Linked DNA regions of Homo sapiens: all the other regions are linked to region 2. Evidence: promoter capture Hi-C in 16 types of primary human blood cells and fetal thymus (Javierre and others, 2016). All regions are on one chromosome and are shown on one strand. The core of a region is centred on a gene start or on the middle of the fragment in contact, and the rest is flanking DNA. Distances in the headings are between cores, read along the strand shown.

Region 1 (3,458 bases), core at 875-3,374, 3.2 Mb before region 2:
TCTTTGTTCTTCAGACATACAAAAGACCACTTAGCCTGTGTGTGTATGCCCCAAATTGCAATTCTTGTTTCCCAAAATAAAATTATTTATTTTGACTTCAACATAATAATGCTGCCTCCTAACAAACCACAACAATGATGTAACTACCAAAGTTAAGCTCTAAACACTGGGGCCTTATTAATGCTTATGTTCCCAACACCAGGTACAATGGCTGGCACTTAACAGCTGAACAAAATGCCATACTCAACCAGCAATTAGTTAAGTACTGACTATCTGCCTGATGACCAGGTTTTCAGAATCCAAAATGGATGTTTAAGAAAATGATTATCAACAATGTGGTGAAGGCAGGTATGAGATTCTGAAAGAACATAGAGAAAAAAGTACCGAACTCTGCATAAACTGGAGAAGGCTTCCCTGAAGGGATACTCATACCATGTGATAAAGCGCCACAGGCAGACAAGGTGATGATCAGACAAAACCACAGCAAATGCAACATTCCTTTACTCAAAAATTCATTTAGTCTCAACCAATATTCTGGGTTACTACACATTAGTAATCAGGCATTTATAACTGATTAGCTATCCATTTGCATTTTCTAATTGGGTCTCTCTAGTATAAATTATTAACTATTTGGTGGAATTAATATCTGAATTTTGCAGAAAGTCTACAGGAAGAAGACAGCTATGGTGGTGCTGTATATAACTGAAACGTGCATCAATTAGATAAACCTAGTGCTGAAGGAAACAGTCCTTCTTCCCTTCTTGTATTCCATCCACAACCTGTCCCCACTTGGAACACACTGCCCACCTTCTTCTATATCAAGATTAATACTATCACGTCCTTGCATCCCTGCTGGGCTCCATCAGTCACCACCAGAAACCTAAACCTCACAAGGGTATCCTTTACCTGTTTACTCCTTAGACTCATCCTCATATTGCCATGTATACTGCCCAGTCTTGCCCAATTCCCTCCCTACCACTCTCCTAAATTCTTCATTGTGCCCTCTGGAACTCCCAATCTGGGTCAGCCAAGTTCCTTCCATATTTTTAACCTTTCTTTTAACCACACCAAGTTCTGCCTCAATGAAAACATGGCTAATTCCCCTATACATCCTACAGATTGCAGATGACTTCTTTTACAGCTCACATGCCACAGGCCTAGAAGGTGAGAAACTGCTTCTTGCTCACACTGTCTGTCACCTACAGTCCTCTACTGCTCCTTCCTCCTTCAGCAACCCCACTACCTTTGAAGCTCAGGCCATCCAACTATACTACTAAAAATAGCCTTCTTGTTGCTACAGTCTACCACCTTCCTAATTCCCCTTTCCTTCAGTGAAAATTCTGTATCCTTCTTTTCCACCTCAGTGCCTGTATTCATGTTGATATCCCGTTGAACACTCTGGCCTCTCAGTTATGTGACCACCACACTACTCACCCATCCAAAATCTGAATTTCCAGCACAGTACTATTCTGCTCCTCTCTAACCGTCCCAGTTCAATTACTGTAGTGGTCCCATGGTAACAAATCTTTAACCTTTGGTTTCTCTAATTTTTTCTATCCTAAACGCTTTTTCCATTGCCTATCAGCCCACCTCTCATTTCTCATTCCTCTTTACCCAGCTTAGACTCCAGGGCTCACCACTGTCATCACTCCCTTGTCATGTCTTTCCTTTGCATGTCTTTCCTTTCTTCTTTCTCTCCATCCATACTTGAACCCCATCATGCCCATCTCCAAACCTGAGAAACTGAATACAAAGAGAAAAACTACAGCGGAGTTCACTAATTTCACTTTAATAGCTTGAAACTTCAAATGGGCAATCACTAGGGCCTGCTAATCTTTCCAATCCTTACTAGCAAGTTTCTTTTCCCACCATGAGAAAAAAAAAAAACAAAAAAAAAAACAAAGAAAGAAACTATTTCATACCTTCTGCTATCTCAAACCTCCTAACCAATAACCAAGTCTTCTCCCAGTCTCATCTTATACTTTGCCAAGAAAATAGAAGCCATTAGAGAAGAAAGCTTTTCCCAACACCAAATCTATAAGCCCAACACTGTATGGATGGGCACCTATCTTCTCTCCTGCTAAGATGGAAGAAGGATTAAAGGGCTCCCTCAAGCTCTGGATCCCAGTGTGTCTCTCACCTACTGATGACTTCACTCCTACCACTACCCTCTGTCTCTCCCCCGAGTCCAATTTCTCCCTCTGAATGGAATCATACCCATCAGCATAAAAATAAGCTTTATAATCTTGGTCCTCTCATCCACAAACCAAATAGAAATAGAACACTAACATGCCATTAAACAATGAAAACTTTAAGATACAGTAGCATTCCACGATACAACCATCAAAAGATATTTATGGGATATTCAGGTTTTAAGAACTTGGTTTTGTTAAGTTACCAATACAGAGAAAGTTAAGTTTGGCAGAGGTAGTTTATCCTGCTAACTAGAGGTTAAAAGTCCAACCATTCTAATGGTTCTACTAAATGGCCTTACCACTTTTGCTGTTTGGACAGGAAATAATTCACATATTACAAATCAACAATGTTTATAAATGGGTAACATACTTTCATTGTGGAAGAAAAAAATACTGGTTACCTTACAGTGTTTCAAAGCTTCTTTGTATTCTTTGTTTCTGATTGCATCTCTAGCACTTTTTAGAGCAGTCTTCACTTCCTTGCTGGACATTCTGTCAAGGCAGAAAGCCTGAGTAAATCTACAGTAATACCTACCCAATCGTAAATGTTCCAACAAACTTAGCCATCTGAAAAGGGACCCTGGAAAAGGAAAAGACTCCTTCTCTCTGGAACAGTCTTCCCTCTAGAATATACACAGTTTATTCCTTAACCTCTTCAGATCTGTACTCAAATGTCACTTCCTCAATGAAACCTTCCTTTGACATGCTATTTAACATTTTAATCTTGCCATCCCCCTACTCTCAACAACCCATTATTTCCGGAACCCCTTCCATTGCTTTATTTTTCTTGAAAGCATTTGTCACATTTAATATACTATATATTCTACTTATTTATCCTGTTTATTTTCTGGGTCCCAACCCCACAAGAAGCTAAGTTCCATGCAGGCAAGAATTTTTTTTTTCACTGCCGCATCCCCAGGACCTAGTATCTTAAATTATAGATGATCAATTAATAAGTGTTGAAATTGAGTTATATTTTATTTACATTCATTCTCTATATATTTTGGCTAAAATACAAATGATCTTGTTGATCAGGACTCAAAACACATACCAATCTCAATCCAACTCTCCCACTCTATACAAAGCTAGATCCAGTAGAATAAGCCCAAGTCACAGATAAAACACTAACACAAATAATTTCAGTGACTGTGATATGAAAGTTTAAGAAAGCATTGTTTTAATGCTAGTTTCTGTGAAACATAAATCAAGATATTAACTTTCTTCACAATAAGGATTACTGTAGGTTTATTACCTGTACTTTTT
Region 2 (3,651 bases), core at 1,152-3,651:
GGCACTTGATTTCTCAAGTCGCCCGCTTGGCCCTCTTCCAAGTTGTACTTTCCTTATTTTCTCTCCTTTCCTTTCCTTACTGTTCTAACGCTTTTTAATAAACTTTCACTCTTGCTCTGAAAAAAAAAATGATGTAAGTACAAACCACGAGCTGCTTGACGCTGAGCTGTTGGACTCCGGGCTATTTCAGCCGCTGCTTTGGGTACACAGTGGCCGGGGAGCAGCCGGGGAGCCCTTACTCTAGAAAGGATTGCACAAATCGCAAGCTTAGGTGATCTGTTAAGCAGTCAGAGATTCTCCTGTTAGATTTCTGGAAATGGAGACATATTAACTGGAGAACAGTTAAAAACATCACGTATAGGCTCAGGAAATGAAACTGCATCTTGTTTAGAATCCATTAGTGTTTCTGGCATGTGTTTTAATTCTGTCCACTTGCACGTTCATGCCGTAGTATGCTTTGCTGGATTCTCCGGATGTACTGTTCAGGTCTCCTCCTTCCTTTCTGAAAACAAAGAGAAAGGGAGAAAGAGTACCAGTGGCAAGAAACAGGGTGGATGTGTGAATTACACAAGTCATCAGCCACTTCATGATTTTTTTTCTGATTAAAACATAAAACTTTTATAAGTCACCGATTTTTTTGTTTGTGTTCTAGCTCCCTCCCCGATTTTTCTTTGTACAATATAAAGTCGTTTGTAACTTGCAGCTCACGGGCTTGAGGAGTGGCTGCGGTATAAGCGACTATTCACTACGCTCTTGCTTTCCAAGCCAATTCCTGATCTTGTGAACAGTACGAATTTACCCGCGAGTGTGTCAACTGACCTATGTCTTGAAAATAGGAACCACCTTGCGGTTTACTTGTGAAAATTAGCATTTTCCTCTAGCGGCTGAACACTTATGCAGCAATAAAAAGTGAATTGTTAGGCTTATAAATCTCGAGCTTGTCAAATTTTACAACAGAGGAGCAATAAAGCACCTTATAGAGATGAAGTTTTTCCTCTGAAGAACAGTTCCGTTTAACGACACCAGGATTTGCAATGACTCGAGGACGCCCTCTATTGATAGGAAAATCTAGAGCACCCGTGTACTTATGGAACAGGATATAGGGGGAGGGGAGTAAAAAATCATAGAAAGTCACGAGTGGAAAGACCCAAACCAAACAGAAATTATTGATCCTTAACTATTGAGTATATGCTTTGAAGTATGATCAATAAAGTGAGATGCTGCTTTTATAGGGGTCGAATTAAATCTTGGGTTAAGAGAAAAAAATGTAGTCTTTGTTAGCCAAATACTTTGAAAATCAGTATTATGTTTGATTACTTTTTTAAGATGCTTCTTAGTATGTCATGAACTGTATCTAATTATATGAAGTAATTGCAAGATAGTAAATTTTTGCTCTAATAATACTTAGTCCGCAGCATTATCTAAAAATGTCATATAACTTCCTCCCCAAAAGTCATTTCTCCAGGCAACTGTGAAGCTATTATTAAGCGTATTATGGATATACACAGGCTTGGATTATATTGTGGATAGTGAAAGGTGTGTTTACCCCTTAAGTCATCATAGTATGTAACAAGTAAGTAATGAAAAGTTACAGTAAAAACAGATAGGCATCCTTCATTAGGGACCTAGTGGTTTGGGCAATTCAAAATGTGTCTAATAAGTGAGCTGGTGAGACTGAAGGTTTGCCCCTCAATTATCCTAGTCCATTGATTAGCTCATTTAAACATGTGTGGAATATCAGCATGTCCGTGGTTGATAAGAAATTCCTAATTAGAGATTCTGAGTAACATAGCGGGTACAGTTGCCAACTACGATTTGGATGTTAGTGGATTTTAAATGGCAACCCTGTGCTGTTTGGGGAAAGGCAAAGGCGAGGGCGGTATCAAGTGTCTCTCAGCCTTGAGGTCATTCTTGAGATTAGATACCACTTCACACCTACCGATAACAAATTGGAATCTATCATCAGTCTCATAACTGCTTTTCTGTCTCCACTTGGCAGCCTCTTTCTTTGTAGACAATTGTCTTTTTCCTCACTTTCGGACCCATCCGATCATAAAAGGAGAAAGTGAGCTGCCATTGAATTAATCCGTAGAAATTTGTGGAAAATTTAAATAATCTGTAGAAATTTGTGAAAAAGCCACTGAGCAACAACAAATCGTGGCATAATTACACTGCATAAAAACCCACCACTCTCATTAATTACACTGTAACCGAACGTTGAAGTTTGCCCACTCTTAGACCTCTCCTTGCCGCTTTCAGGAAGGGAAATGTCAAACTAGAACACCTGAGCCTCGCACAGCTGCCAGCGAATTCCGGCGGCAGTTCGCGGGTACCTTCCCAGCCCATCCTATCTGCTCCGGACCGCGGGTGACATTCAGATTTCCAACACCGCCCCGAGCTTGCTTTACCAGACACCCTCAAACGACTCGGAACGCGGTTCCGCAGATGTGATTGGCTGAAAGGGGACCTGCCGCGCGGCGCTCTGTAAAAGCGCCTGCTTCCTCCAAGGAGGTGGAGCTGAAGCTGGCAGGGCCAGGGCAGGGAGGGGTAATTAAATTAAAAAAAAAACTTGGAGGGAAGATGAATCGGATCACATTAATTCAAGGAGAGGTCAAAGGCCGGTACCTTTGTAACGCCGGCGAGAGTAAGACTTGCGGTCGCCCATTTCTGTTGGGCGCGAGGAAACAGTAAATCGCGGAAGGGGGTAGAGGGGGAAGGAAAGGGAGCGCGAGGCAGCATGCGGCGCAGGAGAGAGGACTTGGAGTCGATGGACAGGGAACTCGAATTACACTGAGCGGGCGGGGGAGAGGGCCCTCTGGGTCCTGCGATTGGCAGGCTGAGTCGGGCTGACGTGCGGTCACAACCAATGGGGAGGAAGGGAGGGACACGGCGGGGGATTATGGCGTCGTGGATTGGCGGGCACAGGGCGGGGCGGGACGGCAGTGCGGGACTGAGATTGATCGACCGCGGGGGCTGCCGCGCAGAGATATCCGGGCCGCCGGTGGGTGGTCGCTAGGGCTGGGCCAGCCTCTTGGAGGTCCACGCCCGCCGAGCCCACGCTGGCTGGGGCCGGGGTGCCGGCGCGCTCGGGACTCGTCTCAGCAGTCGCTCACGGTCTTTGTGTCTTCTCTTCCGCCCCTTTCCCTGCCTGCCGCCTCCGGCCGCCACGATGCCCCTGCGCCCCGCTGCTGCCGCCGCGGACTGGCTGCGCCGGCTGCGCGCTGCTTGCTGCGGCGGTGGTGGCGCCCCATCTGCTACACGGGCCTGAAGAAGGAAGAAGAGGAAGCGAAGCGCGCCCCCCGGCCCATGCCGCAGCCACGGGCCCAGACCCGCCACGGCGCCCGCGCCGCCGCCCTCGCCGGAGCCCACGAGACCTGCATGGACGGGCATGGGCTTGAGAGCAGCACCTTCCAGCGCCGCCGCTGCCGCCGCCGAGGTTGAGCAGCGCCGCAGCCCCGGGCTCTGCCCCCCGCCGCTGGAGCTGCTGCTGCTGCTGCTGTTCAGCCTCGGGCTGCTCCACGCAGGTAGGACGGGAGCGCGCGAGGGGAGCCAGCCCCGGGGCCTAGGGCTTTGTTCCCAAATAGCCCCAGGTCTCGAAGGCGCTCGCCGGGGCGGAAGGGCGGCGTGGCGCAACGGGAAAGGCCTCCCGAG
Region 3 (3,670 bases), core at 1,099-3,598, 3.2 Mb before region 2:
TTTAGATCAGTCATTCAGGATGGCATGGCTACAGACAAAAATAAGAACATTTAGAAAAATATATGATACAACCAAAACTATACTCAGAATAATATTCTTAGCCTTAAGCTTTTTATTATTAAAGGAAATTTAAAAACTCTTCAATGTTAAAAGTTAGAAAAAATATGCATAAATTTTGCAATATTTACGGTGAAGTTTTGATATCCTTAAATAATGGTTTGAGAATTGTATTTCCACTTAGGATAGACAAAGATGCAAGGGAATACTGCTCCCATGTTAACAACAACAACCAAAAGAAAAAAATAAAGGCAGAAAATCTACAAAATCAAAACTTTTCTTGAGCCTATCAGAGAAAGGAGATTGCCAGGCAACAGGTGAACTAAATTCGAAAAGGTGGCAAGCACCTCCAAGGACAGGTGAGACCTCTGACAGAACACGGGAGGAAAAACTCACAGCCAAAAAAGTGGGTAAAGAAGCAACTGATATTTTGACATATACTTAAAGGCCAAATGCATGTGAAAATAACAGTAGAAACTCTGGGAACCCCCCACACACGGTGTGCCCACTGACTAACCAGCTTTCTTTCATGGACTTAATATGGTACTTAAAGAGAAAGACTAGGGGCAGAGCAGAAGACCTGATGGAGCCCCCTTAGTGGGATGGGTGTACAGACAGAGAGTGGCTGCCTCTTGAGGACAAGCATAAAACCCAGGACTTTTTGTCATACAAAGCAAAACACATCTGCCACTGGGGCAGGATCAGAAAACACTCTCACCCCCAGTCCTCAGCAAAAGGTCAGCTGTCACTGGGGAGGGGTAGATTACAGCGAAAGCTATCACTGCTAAGCAAGATGGAGAAACCTATTCATGCCCAGAATCTTTGTTACAAAGCAAAGGTTTCTCACAAAAGGGACAGAACCAAGAAATTTGCTCTTGGAAGTTACAAGACAGAATTCAGCTGCCATAGAGGGAAGGGACAGGATTATGGAGAAACTCCCACACTTGAGGCTCAGGCCCCCAGGGCCTGAATAAGACAAAGGTTGGAACAGGAAGGCCAAGAAAGCCACCCTGCCCCCATCATGGGCAGCAAACAGCACAGAACTTCTGGGAGAGGGGCCAAAGCCTGGAAAGAAACATCCCCGTCCCCTCCCCCACTCTGGTGGCCAAGTGTGAAGGGCCAGCTGAAAGTTGGGGATGGAGCAGAAACACTGAGAAAAACCTTCTACCATTCCAGGCCTCATAGTTGAAACGCAAGATGTCAGTATGGAGGAATATGAAGTCAACAGTATAATAATGATAACTGTAGTAACAACAAAATCTAAACCTAGCTCAACTACTGATTAGATTTACCACCCTAGTAGCCTGATGAGTGAAGAGGCATGGCCATTTTCAGAAGTAAACACTATTTACATCAGTCACTCTTATTCTTTTATATATAATGTCTGGCACTCAGTAAAACTTACAAGGCAAAAGAGTTAAAAAGAAAAAAAAAAAAGAAGCCAATTTTCAAGAGATAAAGCAGTAAACAGAACCAGACTGAGAGATGGCCCAGAGGTTGAAACTGTCAAAGTAACTGTAAAAATGCTATGATTAATATGTTAAAGGATTTAGTGGAAAATGTGGACCACATGCACGAACATATACAGAATTTCAGCAGAGATGGAAATGATTCAAAAAAGAATAAATTGGATACACTAGACATGAAAAACATGTTATTATGGATGAGGAATTCCTTCAATTGCCTTATCAGCAGACTAGAGATAGAAGAAAGAATTAGTAAACTTGACTACAGGTTAGAATAGAAAATTTTCAAAATAAAATCCTGAATTTCAAAAGGTGGCAAGCCCCTCTGAGGAGAGCTGGAACAGAGAGGGGAAAAAAGAGAAAAAGAAAAAGTGGAGAAAAATAGAGCATCCAAGAGCTGTGGGACAGTATGAAATGGCATAATATACATGTAATTCAAGTCACAGAAGGAGAATAGAAAGAGATAAAAGGTCGGAAGAAATAATTGAAAAGATAATTGCTGAGAATTTTCCAAAATTAATAAAAGACAACAAATCACCAACCTAAATGTTTAGAGAAGCCCAAGCAGAATATATACAAAGGGCTAGGCCCGGTGGCTCATGCTTGTAATCCCAACATTTTGAGAGGCCAAGGCGGGTGGATCACCTGAGGTCAAGAGTTTGAGATCAGCCTGGCCAACATGGTGAAACCCCATCTCTAATAAAAATACAAAAATTAGATGGATATGGTGGTGCATGACTGTAGTCCCAGCTACTTGGGAGGCTGAGGCATGGGAATCACTTGAACCCAGGTGGCAGAGGTTGCAGTGAGGCAAGATAAGGGGAAAATCTTGAATGCAACCACAGAAAAAAAGAAACACTCCAAAAAAAGAAACCAGCCAGGCACGGTGGCTCATGCCTGTAATCTCAGCACTTTAGGAGGCATAGCTGGGCAGATCACCTGAGGCCAGGAGTTCGAGACCAGCCTGGCCGCGTGTGGCACTCACCTGTAATCCCAGCTACTTGGGAGGCTGAGGCATGAGAATCATTTGAACCCGGGAGGCAGAGGTTGCAGCGAGCCAAGATTGCACCACTGCACTCCAGCCTGGGCGACAGAGCAAGACTCTGTCTCAAACAAATAAACAAACAAAAAGATAAGAATTACATCATTACAAAGATGAGCAAAATGTATCAAGCACTATGCAAACTAGAAGACAATGGTGCAACTTCTTTCAAGTACTGAAAGAAAAACTCATCATAGAATCCTATATGCCCAGCAAAAGTATCTTTCAAAAATGTAGGTAAAATAAAAACTTTATAAGACAGAAAAAAAAAAAAAGAAAACTAAGAGAATGTGTTGCCAGCAGATCTGAACTATAAGAAATGTTAAAGGACATTCTTTAAGCAGAAGGAATATGATCTCAAATGAGAAACTGCATCTACGCAAAGGGAGAAACTGGAAAACTCATACAATGATGGTGGGAAGGGCCCAGTCTCTATGGAAAACAGCTTGGCAGTTCCTCAAAAAGTTAAACATGAAATTCACATATGACTCAGCAATTTCACACCTAGGAATATACTCTAGAGAACTGAAACAGGCATTCGCAGAAAAACTTGTACACAAATATTCATAACAGAATTGTTCACTATAATGAAAACAACCAAAATGGAAACAGCCTAAAATAGAAACAACCCAAATATCCATCAGCTGATGAATGGATAAACAAAATTTGGTGTATCCACATAATGAAATATTATTTAGCCATAAATAATGAAATACTGTTACATACTACAATGTGGATGAAACTTAAAAACATTATTCAAAGCAAAAGAAACCAAAAACAAAAGGCTACATTATGTGATTGCATTTCTATGAAATGTCAAGAATAACCAAATCCATAGAGTCAAAGGAGACTAGTGGTTTCTAGGTGCTGGAAGAGGAAAATAATGTGTACGGGTTTATTTTGGGAATGATTTAAAAGTTCTGGAATTAGATAGTGGCAGTGGTTGCACAAACTTGTAAATATACTAAAAAGCACTGAATTGTATACTTTAAAATTCTAGATTTTATGATATATAAAGTATATCTCAATTTTTAAAATGAAGAAATAATGAAGTGTTTTCATCTATGAGAATGACAAACGCTGATGATGCTCATATTGTTGGGGC
Region 4 (3,199 bases), core at 221-2,720, 3.1 Mb before region 2:
AAACAAATTATTCTGAGCTATTCAACTTCTTACATGTTGAGGCTCATTTAAAAAATGGCATTTATATAGCACACTGAGGTAAATGGACAAAGTTCCTGGGTTTCGGCTGCCCCAGTTCATTGGGCCACCCTAGAGCCTGAGATCACTATGTCACCATACTAAATACAAGTTGTAGTGTTCAACCTTGGGTTCACACTGGAATCACTCAGGAAGTTAAAAACATACATTGAATCTGCCCACTCCCTTCCCACCCCAAATAATCTGTGTTTTATTTTGTTGGTCTGGCATACAGACTGGGCATTACGACTTTTCAAAACTCCCAAGCGACTCTAAGGCATAGCCAGGGTTAAGAATCACTGCACTGGAAAGTAGTCAAGGAAATTAAAAACTTAGGCTCATCTAGTTTCCCAGCTCGGAACACAAATATGAGGGTTTTGGTGGTTTTCTTTGTTGTTGTTGTTGTCAATTCAGGGAAGTACAATGAGAAAAAAGCAAAATTGCAAAGTTCATAATATGAAAGTGAAAACTCTCCATCTCCTCCCAAAGCAACCACTATTGTTTCTTTTGATTTTTCGAGAAAAAGTTTATGTACATACCTGCATGTTTGTATTTCAAAAAATAATTGTTTACATTAAAGAGAGGACACCATATATAGTATTCTACGCTTTGCCTTTAATATTCATTACATGATGGGCCTGTCCTTTGAGTATACAGTACACAGCTACGAAGTAATTCACATGTCTGTACTGTTGTGCTGTGTTTTATTGAACCATTCCTCCGTGTTATCACTTCAGCTATTTTCACTACTTCACAGCAATAAACATTTTTTTTTTTTTTGAGATGGAGTTTCGCTCGTGTTGTCCAGGCTGGAGTGCAACGGCGCGATCTCGGCTCACCGCAACCTCTGCCTCCTGGATTCAAAGCGATTCTCCTGCCTCAGCCTCCTGAGTACCTGCGATTACAGGCCTGGGCCACCACGCCCGGCTAATTTTGTATTTTTAGTAGAGATGGGGTTTCTCCATGTTGGTCAGGCTGGTCTCAAACTCCCGACCTCAGGTGATTCGCCCGCCTCGGCCTCCCAAAGTACTGGGATTACAGGCGTGAACCACCGCGCCCGGCCTTAACATCCTTATACATGGGTTACCAGCATCGCGACGACCTTCTGCAAATATTTTTATAGGGTAAATAACTGAATGAAGTCGCTGGGCGCATCTAAAATTTGAATAAATGTAATGAGATCAACAAACAACTAAAAAGTAAACTGATGCTATCCACATTTGTCAAGTACACGAGTATGCCTGCCAGTTTGAAGGTGCTGGCGCGGCGCTGTTGGCCAGAGATCTCTATCAACCAGGGTCATCTGCCGGCAATGCCATAGAGGCGGTCCCGGGGGCGGGCCTTCTTGGGTCACGTGGACGGCCTCGCCCCGCCCCCGTCGAGGCGCCGCGCACGTCTGGAGCTCTGGCTCGTGCAGTAGCGTCACGCGGAGGCGGAGCGAGGACTCGGGGACAGTAAGTTCTGTTCTCGCCGCGCAGGGGGCGGGCTGGCGGGACCAGCTGCTTCCGGCTGGGCTGCGGGCGTGGACTCCTCATTCCGGCTGTGGCCGCGCCGCTGCGGGGCCTGAGGCCCTCTTGGGTTTTGGTTCAGCGTTAGTTAACGGTTAACCCGCCAAGGCGGGCTTCCGCCCAGGCACAGGAGACTCACCGAGCTTGTTCACCTTGAAACTTGGGCCACACCTGAGACCTGCCACCTAAGGGGGGTACGCGGGTCGTTTTTAACAAGCTTTCATGGCATTTGTGCCATGAAAGCTCTAAAGTATAGAAGCTGCTCCAGGGCTTCCGCAGCCCCGGCCGTCCTGGAGATACTCGCCTCCTGGAGTCTGTGTCGAGAATTTGCAGCACCTGGACAGCCACGTGCAGTCTCAGAACTGCAGGCGGTCTTTACCGAAATGTTAAACACAACTTGAAGTTAGGCAGGATAACTGCCAGAGCTGGATGGACCTTAGAGGTGCCAGCTAACGCGCTGTGAGCGTTTTCTGCGGTTAGGCCTGCTCTAAACATTTGACATGTGTTAAAGCATTTATGTGCTTTACCCACACCCCTATGTGGCGGGCCCTTCTTAAAGTAAAAGAAACTGCAGCACAGCGAAGTTAAGCAACTTGCCCCAAATCACGCAGAACTGGGATGCAAACCCAGGTCTAGCTCACTCGTGATCACAATTCAACATCATACGATGGTGCTGATTTCCAGAGCAGCTCTGTGACTTTATATAAAATTATTGGGCAAGCGTTCAATTGTAAACATTCGTGAACATAGCTGTTGCACATTAGCGTTCCTTTTTTTTTTTAATTCAGGACCATCTTTGGTGACAAATATAAATATCAATACTATATATATCACCAATATACATATTTGCTTTGCTAAAAGGTTTCTGTGTCTTCAGGATAGTTTACTTGCAAGCCTCATGTTTTTATAAAAACGTGGGTGCTACCTGAATAAAACTAATGCCTACCCGTTGGCGGTTTTGTGAAGACTAATGAACTATTATATTCAAAGGGTCCAAGCAGTAGGCATTTACTAAAGGACAGCTAGTTTTATCTGTTATTATTCTGCCATTCAGAGAGATACCAAAACTACTCTCTAAGGCATTTCTCTTCCCTGCATGTAAAAGCAAGGGTGTCATACTTGAGATAAGCATTCTGATAATGTGTAGGCAAAGTTTCCACACTTGGTAAAAGCATCTTAGTCATGGTTCAAGACGAGTGACAAGTAAGTACGTTTCACTTCATGTTTCTTTTATCTCCCGTGTCTTGTGGAAATTTGAGTTACACTAAATATTTTTTTAAATTCCACTTGAATTTATTTCCTTTGTTGGAAAGGAATCTAATAGTGACCGAGTATCCATTTAGCTAATTTGTAATTTTATATGGAGTTAGCACCTTTAGAAACCAATTTTAGGGACAGGCCAAAAATTTTTCTCGAAGAGAACATGAAACACAACGACTAAGTTTTTCAGGGGGATGTTTTCAACTAGCCGTCAAACTGTATGAGTTGTTTAATTTTCTGTTTCATTCAGTTAAGATTCTATTATCTTAAAGTAGACTTAAAATCGAAACATATTGGGAGTTTATGAATAGTTCATCAAAATAACGATAATTAAGGTGAACACGTGGGCTTTCCCTATTGTGTGAATGGATCAT

What was found. Contacts are between HindIII fragments. The CHiCAGO score rates a contact against its expected background, and 5 or more counts as called.
Region 1: a fragment that was not itself captured here is called in contact with the fragment with the promoter of RGMB-AS1 in region 2 in 3 of 17 cell types (activated CD4 T cells, total CD8 T cells and naive CD8 T cells); the score reaches 5.9 in activated CD4 T cells.
Region 3: a fragment that was not itself captured here is called in contact with the fragment with the promoter of RGMB-AS1 in region 2 in 1 of 17 cell types (activated CD4 T cells); the score reaches 7.4 in activated CD4 T cells.
Region 4: a contact is called between the fragment with the promoter of RFESD here and the fragment with the promoter of RGMB-AS1 in region 2, in 5 of 17 cell types (total B cells, non-activated CD4 T cells, total CD4 T cells and 2 more). The highest score is 6.6, in total B cells.

Annotation. Positions count from the first base shown.
Region 1 is chr5:95,544,465-95,547,922 of GRCh38, forward strand. SKIC3 (SKI3 subunit of superkiller complex) reads right to left here. Exons shown (of 43, transcript NM_014639.4): 4 at 2,597-2,687. The coding sequence starts at 2,686. Among named protein-coding and RNA genes, the nearest start is that of SKIC3, 8.8 kb to the right of the region's middle. The HindIII fragment of the contact is 219 bases long and covers 2,016-2,234 here.
Region 2 is chr5:98,770,683-98,774,333 of GRCh38, forward strand. RGMB-AS1 (RGMB antisense RNA 1) reads right to left here and starts at 2,402. Exons shown (of 2, transcript NR_033932.1): 1 at 1,940-2,402; 2 at 1-502. RGMB (repulsive guidance molecule BMP co-receptor b) reads left to right here and starts at 2,981. Exons shown (of 3, transcript NM_001366508.1): 1 at 2,981-3,524. The coding sequence starts at 3,389. RefSeq lists enhancers at 1-179, 2,558-2,607, 3,343-3,651 and a silencer at 2,828-3,457. The HindIII fragment of the contact is 10,132 bases long and covers 265-3,651 here.
Region 3 is chr5:95,612,182-95,615,851 of GRCh38, forward strand. No RefSeq gene overlaps it. Among named protein-coding and RNA genes, the nearest start is that of GPR150, 6.1 kb to the right of the region's middle. The HindIII fragment of the contact is 4,485 bases long and covers 107-3,670 here.
Region 4 is chr5:95,645,307-95,648,505 of GRCh38, forward strand. It overlaps RFESD (Rieske Fe-S domain containing), which reads left to right and starts at 1,471. Exons shown (of 6, transcript NM_001131066.2): 1 at 1,471-1,511. The HindIII fragment of the contact is 4,150 bases long and covers 1-1,780 here.